Regions from separate parts of the Homo sapiens genome. Here region 1 is linked to region 2. Evidence: promoter capture Hi-C in 16 types of primary human blood cells and fetal thymus (Javierre and others, 2016). All regions are on one chromosome and are shown on one strand. Each heading gives the region's core, a stretch centred on a gene start or on the middle of the fragment in contact. The rest is flanking DNA. Distances are from core to core; before and after follow the strand shown.

Region 1 (4,258 bases), core at 640-3,139, 79 kb after region 2:
TCCCAATAAGGACACAGATAATAACACTCTGCGATCCTCAGCAATACAGCTCTTAAAAGGCAAAAGCAGTCTCAGAAACGTTGTTAACTCAGAAGTAACAAGGATTTATGTTCTGCAAATGATTAAGCTATGGCAGATTGCAAGCACAGTGTTTCTCTCTTGTCAGTTTTAACACAAAGTGATGTTCTATCATTTTATGTGGTTCAAGTCACCTTGTATATTTCTTTTAAGCCCATAACTACTATTAAGCCATGTGACTGGTATCCGTTTTATTTTATTCTGGAACAAAACCAAGCTGAATTCCTTTCCATTACAAAACCAGAGCATCATGACCAAAATCACAACCTACTCACATATTTTCTATTTGCCCCATAGAAAAATGACCACTGAGAGGCAGATAATACACATAGAAGATTTCATCATGAGTTACCTCAAACGTAAGCTTATTCTTCTCTTTATCAGAGAAAGGGAACCTCTGACAAACCACATCTCTTAAATACTCCTCCACAAACTCCATGGTCTGAGCAAATCTCTCCTTAATTTCATCTTTGGAAGCTCCACTACTATCATAGCTGAAAAGAAAGGAGAAAGAAAGGAAACAAAATTTCAAGTTATTCCCAGAGAGGTCTTCCTGGGTCACTCAGCTTCAAAAGTCAACATCCCCTAACCCTTGGCATCCCTTGACCCTACTTTATTTTTTCCCTCCTTAGCATATATCACCAACTATATATTTGAGTCGTTTATCTTGCCTATTGTCTGTCTTCCACCAACTAGCATAGAGATTGCTTTCTAGTTTGTTCACTGATATATTTCTTGAGCTTGGCACATAGTACACACTTAAATATTTGCAGAATGAAAGAGGAGATAAATGAGATATAAAAAATACAATCGGGGCCAGGCGCGGTGGCTCACGCCTGTAATCCCAGCACTTTGGGAGGCCGAGGTGGACGGCTCACAAGGTCAGGAGATCGAGACCGTCCTAGCTAACACGGTGAAACCCCGTCCCTACTAAAAATACAAAAAATTAGCCGGGCGTGGTGGTGGGCGTCTGTAGTCCCAGCTACTTGGGAGGCTGAGGAAGGAGAATGGCACGAACCCGGGAGGCAGAGCTTGTAGTGAGCCGAGATTGCGCCACTGCAGTTCAGCCTGGGCAACAGAGTGAGACTCCATCTCAAACAAACAAACAAACAAACAAAAACCAAAAACATAATCATGCCATCTTTCACATTCTTGAGGAAAAAAATATTTGCCATCCACTTAATTTTATTTTAAGCTTGAAGAAAAAACCAACACTTCATCTTTCTTCTAAGATTTAATGAGACCATATGGGGCTATCTACTGCCGCACAGAATAATGTAAAGTGAGGTTTTCAGGTGCCAGGCTCACTCGTCAATGGCGATCTCCGAGGGAATCTCCGACCAGAGGCGGGCATATTTCACGGGGGTGACTTGTTCCTGGGGATCTCGGTCCACATGCATGTGAAGCATGAGGCGGCAGAAGGACGCCCTGAGGTCATAGGGCAGGTTCTCGTCAGACATGCAGCGGAGAATGAGATCGACATCCAGCTGGCCTGAGATTTCGTTGATGGCCAGGTATTGGCGGTCCAGACACATCCTCGCAAAGAGGTTCAGCTGATATCTAGAGGAAGGAACAAGGGCACACAGCTCACGCTCCAGAAATCATTCAGGATGAATGAAGGGTCGTCTGGGCAGCCCTGACTGTCATGGGAGTGACATTTGGCCAACTAAACTCATACATCAACACCCCTAAATTGCTCTTGTATACCAGGATTTTGGCTTTGGTACCAAGCAGATAAAAGAACTATTCAAGCTGTGCAGTAGAGTGTGGGTTGACAGCCAACAGGAACACATGTCTATCCAGCTGTGTTGGAGCAATTATGTGACGACCTAATTCCACTAGGTCCTTAATGTTTACTTTTTAAAATAAACGGGGGGAATGCTAAGGCCTAAGATGGTTGTCTATTTCTTTCCCTTCAGCTGTGTTTTATACAGTAAAGACCATGTAGGAAATGTTCAAGATATCACACATATTCAGCCTAATTAGAAATTTTATAACATTTTAAAGATCTTATATCATGTAAGTCACTCTAATTCCTACACGTGTAAAAAAACATTTCATTTACAAAAGTAGGAGACTCCTCACTTTTCATCTTCATCCAATTGCAAGTGAATGTTGTTAACTGGAACCTGACCAATTAAGGCACTCTTTCTCATTCACTTGGGAGAAGATTCATCAAACACTGAAAGAGTAAACATACTTGAAATGTGAAATAACGAGAAAGCCACAGGCTTTCAAAATACTGCCTTCTGAATTAAAAACTCTATGTATTTCTAATAATCATGATTTGAAGACATTCTCAGCCTCATTAGATGTCGGGGAAATGCAAGTGTAGACATGAGTCTATTTCACACTTATAAAATTACCAAAAATTAAAAAGCATCATGATATTCAAGGTTAACAAAGACATGAAGAAACAAAGCTTGTCGTCTACAACTGGTGGGTGTGTACACTGACACATCCAATTTAGAATTGCTTAGTAAAGCTTAAAATATGAATATCCTCCAAGCCCACCTCCCAGTGTGGAATGGAAATTCATACATATACTCAGAAAAATTTGAATGAAGATGTTTCCTGACATGAAGAACTGCAGCATGTGATCAAATATCAAACAGCGATGAAAATGTGATAAATCAATAAAACAGAATATCATCCAACAGTCCAAATTACAGAAATGGATTAATCTCTATTAACGCAGATATATTCAATATGGCTTCAGTACCCGTATTGAATAAATAAGGCAAGTTTTAGAATGGTATTTGGAGTACAGTCCCATTTATATAAAATTTTAAGTAGAGATAAAATACTACATATGATTTACAGATGCATACAAATGCAGCACACAGAGAATGTGGATAGGATGCGTACATCACACATGAATGAAAGAACAGAATACAGGAGGCAAGAAAAGGCATTTTATCTGCAGTTTTATTTATTTTATTAAAAAATAATAAAAGCCTTGCTTTATCTTCCCTTTCCTTTTCTTTTAAAAGTATTAATTGGTTCACTTCCTTTCTTTCTTCCCCTTCCCTTCCCTTCAGGTGGCAGGACTGGCAGGTCTTACAGCTGGAGCCAAGGAGACACTGGGGACCGTGGAGGTGGGTGGCAGAGGTGAGACAGGTACACACAGGGAAACGGGCAGATGGGTAAACATACAGGGAATCGTGGCAGCTGGAGGGAGTCATGAAATGGAAAAGGTGAAGGCTAGAATAAATCCTATGGTGTTGGAATGGAATTGGAAGTATTAGTGTAAGTACATGCTTTTTATTATATATTTGTGTAGTTATAGAAAGATACATGGATGAATGTGTAGATATATGTGTATACAAACACACACATCTTCTGTCTCTGTCTATAAACATTTGGTGAGATTGGCACTATCACCTTCATTTTGCAGATAAAGAAATTAGAGCATAAAATCAAACTTGGCCAATGTCAAAAAACTGGTAAGCGGAGAGGTAGGGATGTGACCCCACAGCCTGCCTCTTACGTACCTACCACCATATCTATGGGCCATGCTGCTGAAGGATAAACTATCACCAGGGACTGAGGCAAGCACTCATCCTTTTTGGGAACCAGCCACATCCAGATGTCAACTAACTGAAATCTTACACTCCAAACTCCTAAAACACACATCTGGCTTTTTTCTAGACAATCTTACAAGATGACTCCTTGTGATTCCTTGAAGTAATCAACAAACGAGCAACAAATTCCTAAGTGCCACTGTTTTGGGGCACCCCAATCTGAGCCCCACACGTGTCCCACGCACCTGTAGTAGCTGAGAACGTCTCGGTCCTCCTTCTGCCCTTCTTTAGCATCCTGAGCCAATTCCCTCACACTCTTGCTGCGAATCTCTTTGTTGCTGTCCCTCCAAAACAGCCACACCTCTTCCTCGTCTTCTCCTGCCTCCAGAGCATTCTCTCCAGTGGAAGAGACACCTTCAAATTCAAAACGAGAAAGAACCAACCTAGAAAACAAGAGGAGGAGGGAAAAGTTACTATTTTTAAAAATACTTTGAGATCTAGCTTTACTTTCAGCATAAAGACACATGGAAAGACACTTTTTGTTTTGTATTTCCCCCAAGGGCAGAGCCGCAGAGAGCCTGACATTAACATCTTCATATACTGTAACCCAGTGGTTCTCGACTATGGTGCTGCTGCCCCCAGTGGACACCAGGCAA
Region 2 (4,711 bases), core at 1,726-4,225:
GCTAGCCTCTGAGGGTGGCTTCCAGGGCTGGTTCTATGATTCAATGACAAGTATCCTCTGGTGGCTCTTGTGAAACTCTCAGGTCCTGTCTCAGCTCACCCACATGATCACTGTGGGAACTGTGGCCAGGAGGACATGAAGACTTTCTCATCAGACCTCCACCTTGTCTCATGAACCCTGAAAAGACAGATGCAAGAGGTGCTTGGAAAATTCTATCATCAAGTCCTCTTCCCGGGAGGAGGGTCCAGTGCTGAGGACCTGGCAGTGACTTGGGTGCTGTTCCTCCATGGGGGTGGCAATCTGCATCGTGGAGAGCGAGGGCTGAAGCAGGAGTTGCAGGGTCAGGGGAGTCGATCTCTGGAAACAACTCCCCAGGTCTTATTTCCATTCTGTGTACCTGAGGGACAATGAATCAACACCAACCAACATTTCCTGTCCTCAATGCTCCGAGGTTCCCAGGGAATTCAACTTGAAATTTATACAGATGCCAAGAATAATCCTTGCCACCCCCCCCCCATTTTCTGTGTTTGTGCAGTCACACGGCTCAGTGAAAGCGATCTCTATCCTGCATCTTTAGCAAGGTAGAAACATACGCATAGGGGTGACTTAGGAACTGGGTGGGTTTGGACAGCTCATTTATTAACTTCCATCCTCAGTTCCCTCATCTGCAATGGAGAAAGAGGAGGAGAACCACTTGAGATTCTATTGCAAGGAGTGCAGGAGAGAAAACAGGTGAGAGCCCGCACAGTACCGGCAGGGTGTCTACACCAGCCACGTTCCCTTCGCTGCTCTCCACACAAACTGTGACAAGGACACTTGGCCATAGAAGCCGAAAAAAATAAATCCACTCAGGCCGGATGGAGGCAAGGACACTGGCTTAGGTGGCAAAGCATCAAGCAAAGCAAGTGCCTCCTTGATGAAGACTGCAGTCACCCCCAGTCAACCCTAGTCCTTCCCAACTCAACTGACTCTCGGGTACAGCCGAGTCTGGTCCCCAGCAGAATGCTCTGGGACTCTTCATGTCTCCCCACCCTGCATCCCCATCTTGCTGTGTGCTGGCCCACCAGGTAACTTCCACACGGCCACAGAGAGCATCCCTGGCAGCTGACAGTAAGATGTACAGATGGCCAAGCGGTTAGAGCAGGGCAGGGTGAAATCACACAGCACTCATCTGGGTAAAGCTGCTTTGTATATTAGGGCTTTGGCGGCGGCAGCGCATATCCAAGCAGGGGACAGGCCCAAGCCAACTTGGTGCCCTTTAGAAGCACCGACTAGGGATCGGCGGGAACCACAGAGATCACCTCATCCAGCCCCGACTTGATGACAAGCCCATCACCCTGGTGGAGCAGATACTTTCCGCAGCTCTGCCCCTGACCGACCACCATGGGGTAGACCGCGTTAGCTTCCTTCACTCAGCTCCTCCAACATCCCAAGCACAAGCCAACCCTCTTCTGAAATACTCTTGCCCTCTGCTACTCTTCACACAGCTCCTTCTCTTCGCATCTGTTGGGTCTCAGCTTGAACGGTATCTCCCCAGAGAAGCCCTCCCTGGCCACGCTTCGTGGCGCCTGTTTGCTTCCCCATCACACTTCTCTGAAGCTCTGATTTAGCTGATGATGAGCTGATTTCCTAGCTCTGTCTCCCACAAGACTGTAAGCTCCTGGAGGGCAGGGGCTATGTTGGTCTCATCCCTGACTGTATTGACGCCAATGTGTATAGCACCTGACACCCAGGGAGTGCTCAGTAAGTAAACATCTGCTATATTAAGCCGGCTGTGGTGACACAAGCCAGTAGTTCTAGCTACTCCGGAGGCTGAGACAGAAAGATCTCTTCAGCCCAGGAGTTCAAGGCCAGCTTGGTCAACACAGTAAGGCCTCTTCTCTCTTTTTAAAAAATTTACTATATTAATGAATGAACAATAATCCTGAAGGAGGTGCAATTCCGAAACACTCAAGCCAAGCTTTGCATCCATGGCAGCTGAAGTATAACTTTATGGCCAGAAGAAGCCTGCATGTGAAAGCTCAAAGTCCTGCTAAGTGGGAATATGCAGCACACCGCAGACCAGCCAAAGGCAGCTGATGTGGTGTTGTCACCTCTACGGGCTTATCCGGTTTTTGCACGTAACTCTGTGATGGGCTCAGCCTGGCTGAGGATCCTTAATCCATCGAGTTAACTGTTAACTACCCCGGCCCCAGTGACACAGCAGCTTGCATGATTAACTACAGCCCGGGAGGGATGATCATTTGTGCACCTTCCGTCTCCAAACCTGGCTCCCTCCCCAGACTTGATAGCTACAAGCTCTGGGCTCAACAGTTTGTGGGTTTGTGTTGCAAGGAGGCTAATAAAAACATATTTCTCAAATACCATATGGTGAGGGCAACTGCAACACATCCTCCTCGAAGAGCAATAAAATATATATATTTTTAAAGTCCTGAATTCCAGGGGAAAAACGAGGCTTGAAGACTTCAGAGGGTTTACAGGACTATCCCCTTCAGTGTCAGAGCCATCTTGATCAAAAGTCTAAAACCCAGGAATAGGAAATTGGTAGAAACTTTGAGAGAGCCTCTGACAGTTTCAAAGAGGAACTCAGAGGACCTCAGGAAATGTGAGCGGGCATAGATTTCTCCGTGAAAAGGAGGGTCAAGGCAGAAGAACCAGAGGCAACTGTGAACATCAAGTCAGTTCTCAGGGAAGCAGGGGATCCAAGTGTGTACATGAGGCGCCTTCACTGTCCCTGCATCAGGAATCTAGCTGTTGGCACCTTATAATGAGAAAACAGTCTCAACCATGAAGTTAACTCTGCTGGAAGATTTCCAAAGGGAAAGTCCCTCCCGTTACTCAGAGGGGAAAAAAAAATTACCTACTTGGTCTGGAATCCGGGGATATTTTATGCAGATGTCTCTAACAGAAGTTAATAAAGGGAAGTCAGCTTGCCTCTGATTATTCAAACAGGCTACTGCTATTAAGGATTGCACAACTTCTGGGCAAGGCAGAGGTGGGTTTGGCTTTTTAAAAATTTTTTCAGCCTGTCCTCATGGAACTACATATTCTTTTCTAAGAACTTTTCATCCTAACCTCCCTACTCACATCTTCTAAGTGTCTCTGCTCTGGTGGGAATGTGATGGACAACACAGAGCCATCTCAGAAGCCTCTGTGGCCACCACCAGGCCGGCCAGGGTGCAGGGGGCCACTCCCTGGGCAGCCATAGGGTTCTCAGCAAGGTGCATTCGTCGTCCCTGCTGAGAATCTGATGGGGCAGCATTTTTTTTTTTAATTAAATGCAAGCTGAGTCATTTCAACCTGCAACCTTCAGGTAACAGGAGTTACCCAAGCTCCAGGAATTATGATTGTGGGGTAAACCCATTCTCTTGTTTTCTTGCGGTTCTATTTTATAACGCACTAGAGGAGACAGAGACGTCATTGCTTCACCCAGGGCAAGAGGACAAAGGAGGATGCATGGAAATACAAACAGCCCTTCTCCTCCAGGCCATACCGACTGTCCAACTAGCAACAGACTTCACCTGGTTTTGGAGCAATCTGAATTTGGAATATGCCAGAGAAAACTTCTATCAGGCAAGATGGAAGACTCCTAGGATAGGTCTCTCTCATGGAGGGATTGGTAATAAAAAAATCATGGGAAAAGAAATAAGGGAGGGTGGAAAAAACACACCTTAGAAAACAACTTCTGATGTCCCGGGGCTACACAATGGGGGAGCTGAGCACTTAGGAAGGAGAGGGAAAATATTCTGTTTCCGGAGACAGCTCCAAGAATCATGAGTAGGTGTGAGAAACAAGGAAGCTTACAGATTTAAAAAAAAAAAGAAAGAAAGAAAGGAAGGGGGCAAAAGGAAGGAGTCAGGGAAGGGGGGAGTGAGATCTTTGAGAGACAGGGGAATTAAAAAACACCATAGCAACAACGCAGTCCACCTACCCTGGCCGCCCACCCACAGCCAGATTCTTTACTGACGCATTTGAGAACAAGCTGGTTCCTACCAGCTCAGGAAGGTGAGCAAACCCAGAGAGCTCATTAAATCCCTTCTCAGCGACTCTTGTCTGCCTGCAGATAGTGAGCAAGGAGGATATAAATAGAAGTTATATAACATCTCTTTGTTGATTCCTGTGCTTACCAAAAAAAAATGCAGCATGACCTTGTTTTTCTTTAGAGTTTGCCTCGGCCTGCTGGTTGAGGACTTTAATCCAGATAGGAATCATCTTGAAGTTTAAACAGCAGGATATAGATTTCCAAGTTAAGGGTGCTCTGCATGGCCATCCAAGTTAGGAACCCACAGGGTCAAGTCCTCCTCCGCGGATTAAAAAAAAAAAAATCCACCAGCTCTAAAACAACAACAGCAGGTATGGAATCTTGTGGCTTCCTCTTAGAACATCTCCTGAGGTAAATTAAGGAGTAAATTTGATACCCAAGAGCAAAGCATCATTAAAATGGCATCTTGGGTTTTCTAAAGGAGGTTCGAGCACCACAGGTATATTCAAAGGTAACTGGTGGTTTCCACATACCCTCCAGGCCTAAGCAGTTGTCTTTTTGTTCCTTAACAGGCACGATGGTAAGAGTCCAGTGGATGGAAAAGGCCTCCTCCTTAAAGATGGTGATGGAAACGAGCACTGCACAGGGAAACACAAATCAGGTCCCCTGAAATCCAGCCCAACCTGGCCAGACCCTCCAGTGCCCATCAGGGCTTATGAACAGGGTGCT

Evidence for each region. The method cuts DNA at HindIII sites, captures the fragments that hold promoters and counts their contacts. A CHiCAGO score of 5 or more calls a contact.
Region 1: a fragment that was not itself captured here is called in contact with the fragment with the promoter of EGOT in region 2 in 1 of 17 cell types (naive B cells); the score reaches 5.7 in naive B cells.

The regions. Positions count from the first base shown.
Region 1 is chr3:4,670,516-4,674,773 of GRCh38, reverse strand. It overlaps ITPR1 (inositol 1,4,5-trisphosphate receptor type 1), which reads right to left. Exons shown (of 62, transcript NM_001378452.1): 20 at 3,848-4,045; 21 at 1,387-1,638; 22 at 431-572. Among named protein-coding and RNA genes, the nearest start is that of EGOT, 79 kb to the left of the region's middle. The HindIII fragment of the contact is 1,227 bases long and covers 1,276-2,502 here.
Region 2 is chr3:4,749,854-4,754,564 of GRCh38, reverse strand. EGOT (eosinophil granule ontogeny transcript) reads left to right here and starts at 2,975. Exons shown (of 2, transcript NR_004428.1): 1 at 2,975-3,619; 2 at 4,555-4,711. The region is part of intron 44 of ITPR1 (inositol 1,4,5-trisphosphate receptor type 1); the gene reads right to left. RefSeq lists an enhancer at 178-287. The HindIII fragment of the contact is 1,839 bases long and covers 1,963-3,801 here.